Linked DNA regions of Homo sapiens: all the other regions are linked to region 4. The links are contacts of gene promoters, found by promoter capture Hi-C in human tissues and cell types (Jung and others, 2019). All regions are on one chromosome and are shown on one strand. Each heading gives the region's core, a stretch centred on a gene start or on the middle of the fragment in contact. The rest is flanking DNA. Distances are from core to core; before and after follow the strand shown.

The links. The method cuts DNA at HindIII sites, captures the fragments that hold promoters and counts their contacts. A contact is called where the count stands out against the background at its distance.
Region 1: a contact is called between a fragment that was not itself captured here and the fragment with the promoter of SKIL in region 4, in 1 of the 25 tissues and cell types used here (hippocampus).
Region 2: a fragment that was not itself captured here is called in contact with the fragment with the promoter of SKIL in region 4 in 1 of the 25 tissues and cell types used here (hippocampus).
Region 3: a fragment that was not itself captured here is called in contact with the fragment with the promoter of SKIL in region 4 in 1 of the 25 tissues and cell types used here (aorta).

What each region holds. Positions count from the first base shown.
Region 1 is chr3:170,728,112-170,731,334 of GRCh38, forward strand. SLC7A14-AS1 (SLC7A14 antisense RNA 1) reads left to right here. Exons shown (of 6, transcript NR_135556.1): 5 at 1,245-1,584. The region is part of intron 1 of LOC124906302 (a long non-coding RNA gene); the gene reads right to left. Among named protein-coding and RNA genes, the nearest start is that of RPL22L1, 140 kb to the right of the region's middle. RefSeq lists a silencer at 2,089-2,383. The HindIII fragment of the contact is 5,722 bases long and covers 1-3,223 here.
Region 2 is chr3:170,697,924-170,701,300 of GRCh38, forward strand. All of the region lies in intron 2 of SLC7A14-AS1 (SLC7A14 antisense RNA 1), which reads left to right. Among named protein-coding and RNA genes, the nearest start is that of SLC7A14, 110 kb to the left of the region's middle. The HindIII fragment of the contact is 3,977 bases long and covers 1-3,377 here.
Region 3 is chr3:170,757,578-170,760,885 of GRCh38, forward strand. No RefSeq gene overlaps it. Among named protein-coding and RNA genes, the nearest start is that of RPL22L1, 110 kb to the right of the region's middle. The HindIII fragment of the contact is 4,311 bases long and covers 1-3,308 here.
Region 4 is chr3:170,356,124-170,359,511 of GRCh38, forward strand. It overlaps SKIL (SKI like proto-oncogene), which reads left to right and starts at 1,592. Exons shown (of 7, transcript NM_005414.5): 1 at 1,592-1,640. RefSeq lists an enhancer at 165-264 and silencers at 545-1,444, 1,605-1,834, 1,885-2,014, 2,105-2,174. The HindIII fragment of the contact is 15,648 bases long and covers 1-3,388 here.

The sequences.
Region 1 (3,223 bases), core at 719-3,218, 370 kb after region 4:
CTTCTCTCCTTATTCCTCTGAAGTCTATTTTCAACCCAGCAGATGGAGTGAACCTTTTTTTTTTTTTTTTAAAAATCTAAGTAAAATAATGTGACTTTTTTCCTCAAAACCCTCCCATGGCTTCCTGACTCTCTCAGTTTAAAAATCAAAATCCTCTTCATCACCTGCTGGATCCTACCTTTCTGTCTTCATCTCCCACCACTCCCTCTCTGGCTCACTCTGCTCAGCCACACTGGTGTCCTTCCTAGAACATGTCAGGCTTGCCTCAGGGCCTTTGCATGGGTTAGATCCTTTACCCTGAGATTTTATCACACAGGTTCCCCATGGCTCACTCCTTCTACTCCAGTGTCCCCTCAGTGAGGCCTTTCTTGACCCTCTGCCTTGACACGAAATCCTATCTCTCCCACCCTGGCGCTCCCTTTTCTTCTTGCCCTATTTTATTTTTCTTCATCGTACTTAATCATTATTTGATTTGCTACATCTTGTTATTTGTTTATTCCCCTCTCTCCTCACTATACCGTAAGCTTGGTGAGAAAGGATATTGTGTTCACGGCTGTATTTCCAGAACCTTGAATAGTGCCTGGTACAGAGTAGGTACTCAGGAAATATTTGGTGAATGAATGAATTAATGAGTGAATGAATTCAAAATAATGAACACCTATGGCCATTACTGCTGTTTCAGAGAAGGTAGAGTATCACAGACTGGAGTCAGAGAAGGCTTTGATGAGCTGGTAAGTCCAGGCACTATAGGATGAATGGGCTTTTGAACAGGGTTAGGAAAAAGCATTCATGTGAGGGAGGATGTTAAAAAGCTGAAGAAAAAGAACTCCAACAACATTTATTGAGCACTTACTACATGTCAAATACTTTACATTCATTATCTCATATTATCCTCATAATGACTATAATAGAGAGGTATTATTATTTCCATGTGAGAAATGAGGAAACTATGTTTTAGAGATTTTTTTAAAAGCAGCTTTCCCATAAAACCTTTAGTTAGTAAGTTGTAAGCCATTCTTGTAATTGAGTTTTAGCTGACTCCAGGCCCATTTTCTTTCTCTTTTTATATCTTATCATCATTATCATCACCATTCCTAATACTATTTAAGTCTCTGTACTCTCCACCTGGCATGCTCCCTCCCATACTACCTGAATGGTGACCTTTGGTAGTGCTCAACTCAGTGATACATAAATAATATAAATAATAACAAAATGTATTCTCAATTTTTTCTCATCAACCCCAGGAAGGTTAAGCCTCCTTGAACTTACTTAAATTGGTGGCAGCACGAGCTTTCAGCATCATGGCCAGCATGACCAAGCCATTTCCCTGGTGTTCCCCTCAGCATGAAACATCTGTCTACTTATTTCTTTGCTGAGCCTGAATGGAATATTCCATCTCTGAAAAATAAACTTTGTGTTTAAATTGAAATCTTTATTCCTATCTGGCAAATTGGCTATATATCCTCAACAATTGGAAGGAAGTGATGTATCTGCTGCCATCAGCTACAAAGCACTGGACGCCCACTGTGCTATTTATTAGATTTACATGAATTCCAGGTGAATCTGATCCAGTGGCTACAAAAAGTGAGTATAAATTAATTGTTATTCTATTCCTCCAGAATGCCTGATATGGAAAAAGCAATTGAATCTGAGCACAGTTGGAAATTTAAAATGAAGTTTTGTTCGGCACTGAAATTCATGAGACTGCCAGAAAGGAGAGAAGGAAAAAATTTTTTTTTCTTCTCTCTTTTTTTTTTTTTTTACAAAATCCATTGCTTTTGATAATAAAGTAAAAAACATTTATTAGTCAACTTTGCTGGGGGCAACAAACAACCCTAAAATTTCGGTTACTTACAACAAAGGTTTACTTTTTATCACGTTACATGTTAGTTATAGGTCATTGTGGGGTCAACTGTGGGGCTGCTCCATGGATAACATTCATTCCAGAACTCAGCTGGAGGAGCAGCTCCTCTATGGAATAAGCCATTCTGGTGGCAAAGGGAAAAAAGCTAGAGAGCTGTTGTCAACAGGGAGTGGCCTGAAGGCATCTGTTCACAGGTCACATGAGTGAGTCCCATGTCAGTGGGGCAGAAATGTGTACTCCTCTCATGGTGGGCACTAACAGTCCAATGGCAATGACTGGAGATGTGTAATTCTCTCACAGGAAGGAAAAGTGAAGCACTGGGAAGCATAATAAAAATCTACAGCACACTCCTTATCTTAGCGTAAAACACAGCTGGCCTCGTCTCCCACCATTCCTTATCTTGTCTGTGCTCTGGCCACATTGAATGGTCTCCTTTCTCCCTAAACACATGATGCCACACTTTCATGTCTGTTTCCTATGCTGGAAATGAAATTCCCTTCATTTTCTGCCAAACAGAGTGGCTCTCTGCCTGCAAGGTCCAGTTCACATTCTGCCTACTTTATAAAGCCTTTCCCAACTCTCCAGTTGAAATTAAGCACTCCTCCTTTGGAGCAAATGGGGCAGACTGGCTGTACATCCAGCTCTAATTCAATCTTACTTGGTCAGTCTGGTAACTTCCTTGGTAAGTTCTTTATTGGTAAGTCTGGATAAAAAGCTACTGAAGGTTGGGAGGCCAAGGCGGGTGGATCACTTGAGGTCAGGAGTTCAAAACCAGCCTGGTGAACATGGTGAAACCCCATATCACTAAAAATACAAAACAATTAGCCGGGTGGTGACTGTGGCAGGGGCCCATAATCCCAGCTACTCTGGAGGCTGAGACAGGAGAATTGCTTAAACCCAGGAGCTGGAGGTTGCAGCAAGCTGAAATTGCACCACTGCATTCCAGCCTGGGCGACAGAACAAGTCTCCATCTTAAAAAAAAAAAAAAAAAGCTATGAAGGGCAGAGACTAGGGATTCCTTTTCCTGGGGCCCCTCTCCAGCCTCTTTGGGGTCAGAGTCTTGACCATAATACATGTTTAATAAACTCAATCGAATTACTAAAAATGTACATATTCACCATCAAGCTTACCCTTAGTGTGAAATTATAAGTCTTTTCTATAGCAGGCATATGCAGCAAACCATGTGGAGAAATCTGTTAGCACTCTTCTTCAGTCACAACAGTCGTGAAGATTATCCTCTTGGTTCTGCAATATAGACCCTACCCATTGTGTGTGTGTGTCTGTGTGTGAGATTCCTACCTTCCCACCAATAAAAGCATTTTGGATACCATGTTTTCACAGGAACACTGCTTCCCTTGC
Region 2 (3,377 bases), core at 375-2,874, 340 kb after region 4:
CCACGTCTTATATCAAGGTCTTCTGTCAGCCCCCTGCCTTCTGTTGACCAAAAGGTTGGGTTCGTCCTGTGCTCTTCTCTGACACTCCCTCCTCTTCTATTTCATTCCAGGGCATTCAAGTCCAATGATTTGTTTTAGAAATGCTATCATTTGTTAGCTTAGCTTTTATCTCGGTTGGATGCCTTTCCTGTCTCACTGCTTTCCTTTCAAGGAGGCAGAGCCAACAGTTGACTGAGAGTTTTATTCAACACACCCCTGTTGTTAGATGAAGCTGGAGAAACTTTTATTAACAAGCTTACTCAGGACTTCAGCCATGGTGTAGGGTATGTGTCTGCCACCTGTGTCTGGCACCCTCTGAAGCCTGAATAAGAGATAAAGTGAGTGGAGCTTCTGTTTGGAATACCAGCCTGGTAAATAAACCCCAGCAGGTGGGGCCCAGAGGATGATTTGCTTTTGTCTGTGTGAAGCAATTGCCTTTATCCAGGTTGCTCTAAATGGTGATGCTAGAGACATTATGAGAACTCCGAGATTTTTGTGCTGCTCAGGCCTGTTTCTGGTGATGCAGAGTCCATCTTCCCAGGTGATATAGAATTCCTTATTGGGAATTCTGGGGACATGACCGATGAGGCAGAAACAAAAGGGAAGTCAGAAATACAGAGATGAGATGATGAGAAAGAAGTGCCTGCAAATAATTGGCAAAGAATAGAGCTGTGGGAAATATTGGTAATCATCATCATCAGCATTCTAAAACTTTATATTTGAGTAGTGCTTTATAATTTTTTAAACTTTATTTTTACAAATTAGTTTTGTAATTATTACTCACTCCTTATCACAAAACCTTGAGGGCTAGAACCCCTCAGGATGGGAGAGATCATGATATAAAGGCACTGATAATCTGTATATACTATAGAAGGCTGAGACCATCAGCCCAGGCTTATTATGGGTAAAAGGGTTATAAAGCAAGGGCTAAAAATGAAAACCTAAAACATTATAAGAACTGAAAGAAAATATAGAAAACAACCTTAGTATCTTGATGGAAAAAGAGGGCAGGTTTTGCTTATCAATTCACAAAAATCCAGAAGCCCTACAGGAGAAGACTAACAGATTTGACTACTCCAAGCTTTTTTAAAACATTGTTTTCTATTTTTCATGTATAAGGCTTTCTTCAGATATCTGTGGATCTTTGTCTATTTGCTCATGATTATAAATGGAGAAAAGAGCTGATTAGAAACTGTGTATCTGCATAGAGCTTATTTATTCCGAACATCACTGTTGGATAAACTGGGTAGGCCATTTATTAAGCAATTCCCACTGTCAGTATCTTAGGCCAGAAGTCCTAAGTAAGTCTCACTAGGCTAAAATTAAAATGCTGGCATGGTTTTATTGCTTTCTGGAGGCTGCGGGGGAAAAATTGTTTTCTTATCTTTTCCAGCTTCTAGAGGCTGTCTGTATTCCTTAGCTCCTGGCCCTTTCCTCCATCTTTAAAGCCAGCAACAGCCACTCAAGTCTTTCTCACATTGCGTCACTCTGACATTGGTTCTCCTCCCTCCCTCTTACACATTTAAGAACTCCCGTGACTGCACTGGGCTCACACAGATAATCCAGGTTCATGTCTCTCTCTAAAGTCAGCTGATTAGCCACTTTAACTGCCCTGTGCTATATAATCTACTATATTCACAATTCCAGGGCATAGCATGTAGACATCTTTGGGAGGTTTTTATTCTGCCCACCACAAGTGTATATATACTCATAGGTGTGTAAATATGTATTAGTCTGTTCTCACTCTGCTAATAAAGACATGCCTGAGACTGGGTAATTTATAAGGGAAAGAGGATTAATTGACTCACATTTCAGTATGGCTGGAAAGGCCTCAGGAAACTTACAATCATGGTGGAAGGGGAAACAAACAAGTCCTTTTTCACATGGTGGCAGGAGAGAGAATGAGAGAATAAAGGTGCAAGCCCGTTATAAAACCATCAGATCTCATGAGAACTTACTTACTCACTATCACGAGAATAGCATGGGGGAAACCACACTCATGATTCAATTACCTCCCACTGAGTCCCTCCCACGACACGTAGGGATTATGGGAACTACAATTCAAGATGAGATCTGGGTGGGGACACAGCCAATCCATATTAAAATGCATAGAAAAAGACTGGAAGTACATACGCCTAATTACATAATGAATTAAGTACCTAACAGTGGTTGCCTCTGAAGAGAAGGAATGGGAATTAGGAGAGAATTTAAAAAGAACTGTTATGGTTTACTTGAAAATTATCACATTTTCTTTGGAGTAACCTGAACCAAAGGATTTTAAATGTATTAATAAAAATATCATTAAATTGTAATTATTTACTTATATTTGTCACTTAAACATAATGTTGTACAATCTGTTTTCTTAGCCATTATATTAAATGGGTTCTTTTTTTTGTTTGCTTTGTTTTTTTGAGATGGAGTCTTACTCTGTCACACAGGCTGGATTGCAGTGGTGTGATCTCAGGTCATTGCAACCTCCGCCTCCCAGTTTCAAGTGATTCTTCTGCCTCAGCCTCCTGAGTAGCTGGGATTACAGGCATGCACCACCACGCCTGGATAATTTTTGTATTTTTTAGTAGAGATGGGGTTTTGCTATGTTGGCCAGGCTGGTCTCAAACTCCAGGCCTCAAGTGATCCAACTGCCTTGGCCTCCCAAAGTGCTGGGATCACAGGAGGTTCAATTATTGAGGTTAGCGCATAACTATGAATAAAAATAGGTTTTAAAGGTATAGCATATTCTATTTAATAAATATGCTTCTTTAATTTGTTGATGGTGACTGTAAAAGTGTGAAATGTATAGAGAACTGCCTTGTCTGCCTCTGAGAAGTGCAGTTGTGTCAGATGAAATAAGAGACATGTGTGATGTGAGGCCAACGTGAAAGTTTACAGAAAGTCAACACATTTCCTATCACATTCTTTTATCTTCACTATGGTTTGTTAGGGATCTCATTAGATGCTTCTATTTCATTAGTCTTTTGGCATTTCACTCTTTCTTGTTTCTGATATGTGTCCTTCTTTGTCTTCATAGTGTTAGTTTCATTTTGTCCATTAGCCCATTTGTTTCTCACTTAAGCATTTCTTCTTTGGCGTTTTAACTATTTTCATATTCCTTAAGTTATTTAGACTTGATTAAACAAATAAATACCCTAATATGCATGAAAGTATTTGCACAGATAATTGTCAGAGGCATATAATTTCAAAAATGCTTTTATATACTGTTTATTTGGTGTATAAAAATGTGGCCGGCCATGGTGGTTCATGCCTGTAATACCAGCACTTTGGGAGGCTGAGGCAGGTGGATCACCTGAGGTCAGGAGTTTGTGACCAGCCTGACTAAC
Region 3 (3,308 bases), core at 239-2,738, 400 kb after region 4:
CATTGGGTACAGTGTACACTGCTCGGGGACAAGTGCACCAAAATCTCAGACAGAAATCACCACTAGAGAACTTACCCATGTAACCAAAAACCGACTGTTCCCCAAAAACGATTGAAATAAATTAAAATTTAAAAAAATACATGAAAAAAATAAAATGTGTGAAAAATAATAAAATAAAATAAATAGTTCCTTGTACTACATGAGCAGTGTATAATTGAACTGTGTATACAATGTACATGTGTATACAATGTGTATACAATGAACCGCTCGTAAGTGGAGGTAACAAAGCACTTATATTTGGTCTTTCAGGTACAAATCCCATATTTAGGCCTAAAGAAGCTTCAGGAGGTTTCCTGATACTCTGCTTCATATATCTCCTTGATCTAGCTTTTCTCCTATCTTTTATTGTTAATTTAGTTCAGCTTAGTTTTTAAATAGAAAAGTGATTCATGTTCACTAAAGAAAACGGTAATTTTTCAGAAAGAATAGAAACCTCCTTTAATTGCTTACGACTCAGAGGCAACCGCTTTACCATGTTTCCTTCTAATCTCTTTTAATACTTTTCTTATGCAATTGGCTGCATTTTCTTCACACATACAATGTTGTATCTGTTGTTAGTTAACATGCTGAGTGTTTTTGATGCCATTCAAATACTTCATAAGCATAACTTTTCATATCCACATAATATTCCGTCTTACAGATATGTGACTTATGTTTAGCTTCTGTCTATTGTCGTTCATTTACCATGTATATTTTCACTTCCAAACTGCCTTCTTTTATGCCTGAATATCTTGAAAATTGATTTTTTTCCTCACGTTTCCTCCTCCTTTTTTGCTCACTGACGTCTTTCTGATTTTCTCCCTCTCTTTATCCTGCTTCTCCCAGTCTCACCTTTATAAATTTACATTTATAACATGTTTTCCTAACATGAGTTTTGCATTTAAAAAGTGTTTTCTCACATTCATCACCTTATTTGGTGTCCACAATAACCCTCTGGAATAAGCAGGGGAAGTAGAAACTAAAATTCAGAGAAGTGATTTTCCCAAAGGCACTTAACCCAGATGACTCTTAATTCACTGTCTATACCAGACCACTCTATATGATGGTTCTTTTGGACATGTTTTTATTTTTATTCTTTATTTTTTGGACACATGTTCTTAAAAGCTACACAAGATTCATATAGGTTTAAAAAATAGCTTTTCATTGTTCATGTTTATAACATAGTTGATACATCTGGCATATAATAATCCTTATAGGTTCTACCAAAAGTTTAAAACATAAGGAATAATGAACTAATGGGCACCATCAAGCTCTGGCAAGGATCTCACAGGGGCATAAAATAGTTATGTGTGGTCTTTCACATCTTCTCAGCAGTTTCTCCAAATACTGCACTGCCTCAACATAGAATTCCCCACCATGCTTTTGAACTGACTCCACCCCCACCTTTTTTTTTTTTTTTTTTTTTGAGATGGAGTCCGCTCTGTTGCCCAGGCTGGAGTGCAGCGGCGCGATCTCAGCTCACTGCAAGCTCCGCCTCCCGGGTTCAAGCGATTCTCCTGCCTCAGCCTCCTGAGTAGCTGGGACTAAAGGTGTGCGCCACCACGCCCGGCTAATTTTTTTATTTTTAGTACAGACGGGGTTTCACCATGTTGGCCACAATAGTCTCAATCTCTTGACCTCGTGACCCGTCCGCCTCGGCCTCCCAAAGCGCTGGGATTACAGGTGTGAACCACCGTGCCCGGCTCACCCTTTTTTTTAAAGATAAACAAAATACTAATTTGCTAATGAGTATATTGGAGATTGTCTCCTGTGACCTCAGTCATATTAAATTCTCTCCCTGAAGGGGACTAATACTCCTCACAACCACCCCATTAGCCCTGTCTTCCCATGTTTAAAAATCAGCTTTGTTCAATTATGAGGTCAGGTTTCCCCTTTGTGCAGGTCTTCCTGAAACCAGCGGGCTTCCTGAGGAATGTGAAGAGAACCAGGTCACCTGGGATTTCTTCCTTCCTCAGAAGGTCTCCCCAAGTCAACATCGCCTCTGAATTTTCTATTTCCTTTTGGCAAATAAAAGAAAAAGTAAGTAAAACATCTTAGTCTATGCATGACCAAAGGTTAAACCTTTATTGCTTCATTTTGATTGTATCAGCTTTTCAGGACAATGTTTTCAAGGCCAGAGCTTATTTTAATAGCTGTAATAATACCAGTATTTTCTGATAATAATGGCAAACACTTTTTTTGGCAAGCACTTTTAGTGTTTGTTGTGGTTGTGTGCCAGGCATGGTTCTCAGCAGTTTTCACTAATTCATTTCATCTTCACAACAACCCTATAAGGTAAATTTTATTATCGCCCTTTCTACAGATTGGCAAATGAGGCACAAGTGGTTTGGCTTGCCCCTAAACTACATAGACAGCAAAAGACTGAGGGAGAATTTGGGGAAGACAGTCTTGCTCCAGTTCATGCTCTTATTCACGGCACTGTGCTGACCTCTCAGTCACCACGCTATTTACTTTACATACATTGTCTTATTTAATCTTCACACAGTGTATGTTTTATTATTTATCTCTATTTTACAGGTGAGGAATGAAGCTCAGTGGTGTTTAGCAGTTTGGCCAGATTCCACTCTGGCAAGCTCAGTGAGACAGAACCAATTTCCCTTTCTGTTTCTTTTAGTAGATAAAGCCATTGACCCAGCGATGAGGCAACTCAGAAAATGCTCAGAATACCAATCATAGGATCTCCCTAAAAATCAAGTGATGTGGTCAAGAAACAAAGCCTAAATAGAGCTTCTCTGCCACTCTGCTATGTGCTGCTGCATTTCTCCATAGAAATGTAACTTTCACCACCACCACACAAAGCTGAACCAGTTACCAGGGAGCTGGGAAGCAAGACAGATAGCAGGGAGACAGGGGAACACTTTAGGGTTAGGCCATTATTTTCAGATCAGGTAGAAGAGTAGAGATGGTTAGACACACTCAGAGATTCTTTGACTCTGACTTCAGGCAGGAAGTAAAATCCAGTCTAATCAGTTAATAAAAGGCATTCATCAAAGAGATTCAACCTCACACTGTTACTTCAACAGGCATCTTGCCCTTGTGGAAAAACAGGCTTAATTTCCAAATCATTTTAAGCTTGAATATTGGTGCAATGGGGAGCTTAATTTGGGAGGTAATGAGACCACCAAAGGAAATTAGAATGATTAACTGGGGCACAGTGAAAGCATGGAGCTGTTGGTAAAGGAAAATTGTATTTGTAGAGCTATGTGGTGGGGGGCAAGAGGCACAGATGAAGAGAACAAAGAGGGAGG
Region 4 (3,388 bases), core at 342-2,841:
CTAAGGAAGGGAACTTGGGTGGGGGTGCGGGGAGTGGTGGGGATTGAGAGGCTTGTGAGCCTTTCGGAGGCCTGTTGTGAGGAAAAAAAAAATAAAAAGTACGAGCACAAGAGTATTTCCAGCCGGCCGACTGCAAATGTGGGCCCCCACAGGAACAACCCGAAGCAGTAAAACTAGAAGAAATTGGACGAAAATGGGGGGGAAAAAAGGGACAAAGCTCGAGTCTCCTGAATTTTGTGCACTGCTACTCGGTGGACTATTTCAGTTCCTGATCTTGTGGTGGGGTGGAGAAAAGGGGATTTCTTGGTGTTTCGAAATGTGACGGAGCAGCTCTGCAGAGTTCAATATGCTAATCGGCTACCCTGGGAACCAGGAAGACCACCCTACACGCCTCAGAGGGTCACAGCCGGAAAGCTCTTGAGTCCTATCTTCCCTACCTCGTCTCGTCCCTCTCCAAAAAAACACACACACAAAAAAACACCCTCAGTAAACACTGTAAAAACCTTTAATTTATAGCTCCCTTCTGGAACCGAGAGAGCAGCCTGGTGGGGTGGAGGCAGGAGGCTGGGGAGTAGGGACAGAAATGTTTGCTCTCGGTTTTGCCGGAACTTTGGCCACCCCTCCCGCCCGGCCCGATGGCGGATGGAGGTCAGCCAGGGGAAGGCGTCTGGGTGGAGGCCGCCCGGGCGAGGCCGGGGCCGCCGGGGCGGGGCGGAGCGCCGGCAGCTGGCTGGGCGGCCCTCGGGCAGGAGGCCCCGCGGGGGCGAGGGGCAGCCCAGGAGGGAGGTCCCGCGGGGGCGGGGAGCAGAGCCGGCCCCGGGGGCCCTGCAGGGCGGCCGCCGCCCGGCTGCCTCCGGGGCGGGGCGGCCCAGCTGCGGCCCCGCAGGGGGAGGGTCGCCCGTGCCTGACCTCGGGCGGCGGCACTCTGCCGGGCGGGCACTGCCTCCGCCCTGCCGGCTGCTGGGGTCGCGCACAGTGCACCGCGCGGCTGCCCTGCCCCCTCTTCCCCGCTGCGCGGCGTCCGAGCGGCCAGGGCGCCCCCGCGTCTGGCCCATCACCACAGAGCGGCGGGTGGGGCGGGGGCGGGGCGGTGGCCCCAGACAGCCGGCTGGGCGACTAGAGGAAGGAAGGAGGGAGGGCGGCGGTGAGGGTGGGGTGGGGAGGGAACATCCTGTCTGCGCCGGGTGCACCGCAGACAGCGCCGCGCGCCAGCTTCCCAGACGGCGCGCGGGGCCAGAAGCGCCGGGCGCGCGCCTGGGGGGAGGGGCACGCGCGCGAGACGACGGGGCCAGGGGGGCGCTCTGAGGAGCCACAATAGGCCAGACGGCACGCGCGTCCACGAGGGGGCCGGGAGCCGCGAAGTGGCGGCGGCGGCGACGACGCCGGCGGGCCCGCGCGCGCGGCGCCGCCGCTGGCTCCGTTCCCTTCCCCTCCCCCTCCCCGCCGCCCTCGCTCTCCCCCGGGCGGCCGGAGACGGCGGCGGCGTCTGCGGGAAGCTGTGTGTCTCCGCAGTGACGTGGGCGGGCCGAGGACTCGGTGACGTCAGAGGGCTGTGTGTAGCGATGTGTGTGGGGTTCGGAGCCGCGCCGGCACAGCCGAAGGGAGCGGGCGAGCGGCGACGGCGGCGGCGGCGGGCACAGGTGCGGCTCCGGCTTACGGCGGCGACGCGGCGGAGGCGGCGGGAGGCCAGAGGCGCTCACCCTCCTAGGAGCCCGACGGCGGCGACAGGGGCGGTGGGGAATTCACAAAGCTCGTCGAGCTTACCCGGGCACCGAGGCCCGAGTAGGGGGTTTGGATGCGCGGGTCCCGGGTGGGGTCGGGGCCAGAGGGGGTCGCTAGGCGGGTGTTCCACGGCTGATCACGCTTCGTTGGCCCCAGGCGGTGGGCGCCGGCAGGGCAGGGCGCTGTAGTTGACGGGAGCCGCGGGGACCCCGGAGACCCGGACGCCCGTCACCGCCCCCCTCCCCCAGTCCAGCAGCGCTCCGCGGGGATGCCCTGGTCTCGACCCGGTCCGTCAGCCCCCGGCGGCGCAGGGATCCGCGCCCGGCGCCTAAACTGCCCTGGTGTCCTCTTCGTTCTGGCCCGGGGCTGGCGCGGGGAGGTGCAGCATTAGGGGCGCTGAGGTGACACCCGAGAACTTCCCAGGGAGAGGGTGCGCGGGGGGGTGGATTTCCACAGTCCTTCCCGCGGCCCCCGCGGGGGGGCGGTGTTGGGAGGGCACTTGGGGTTATCCCAGGCTCGCCGGTGGGGGTGGGGGGACTCCTCCCTTTACTTCCCTCCACCCCCTTGCACACCCACCCCCAGGCTTCCCGTGTCCCTTGTTCTCCCTCTCTCCGGGTTAGAGATAGGTGGGTGGCTTTGAGTGGGCGGAGGACTTCAGGGTTTTAGGGGCTCCCCCATTCTAGGTCATGCCTCTTGCTCTCTTCCTTGGCCTGTGTTGAGTAAGGTGTGTTCCTGTGGTGGACGAAAGTCTGTACGATGGTTGGTGGCATTGGTCCTTAATCCTTTGGGTCTGTTTTAAGGTAAAGTGCTGAGAGTTTGGGAAGCAAAAATTTCTATTTATTGGATTTCTTTTGGCTTTTCTCTCAAGAAGGAAGTGGAAAAAGAGTCTTTTCTTTTTCCCTCTTCCTCCATTTGCATTCTTTGTGAGGTTTGTCTGCCTTGTGCTTTTTGTCCCGGATTAGTCTTGTTGAAGGATGGAGATTCCCAGGCGTGGAGTCTATAGCTTTTGGCTTCCATTAAGTAAAATCGCTAACCTTTTTTTAAGAGAAAGTTAATTTTTGCCTGCAGTCATTCCAGAAAAATAGTGTACACGGACTAGCTGAATTAATCCACTTAAAATTGTAACTTAGTTACATATGGTAGATATGTTAACTCCTATCTGATTTTTTTGGATGAAACTGTTGTTTTGTTTTTAAATAGGAGATGAAGTAATGGATTTTTTTCCCTCCCTTAAAATGGCATAGCTGAGAAAGCCCCGGTACTACTAATTGAGATGATCTGCTTAAGAGTCTTCATATTCTGAACTCGAAAGGCCTTTTATGTTATATTATTGCTCGCTTTACGCAACTCCAAATTGCTTTCCTATTTAAATGAATGTTCTTCTAGTAAACTGGTGTTAGATTTAAAGAAATCACTCAAGCTTCACCTTGGTAAACTGAACTCAGTTTAAGATTAAGAAACTGATTTCGGCCGGGTGCGGTGGCTCACGCCTGTAATTCCAGCACTTTGGGAGGCCCGGGCGGGCGGATCACCTGAGGTCAGGAGTTCAAGACCAGCCTGACTAATATGGTGAAACCCCGTTTCTACTAAAAATACAAAAAAATTAGCCGGGTGTCGTGGCTTGTGCCTGTAGTCCCAGCTACTCCGGAGTCTGAGACAGGAAAAT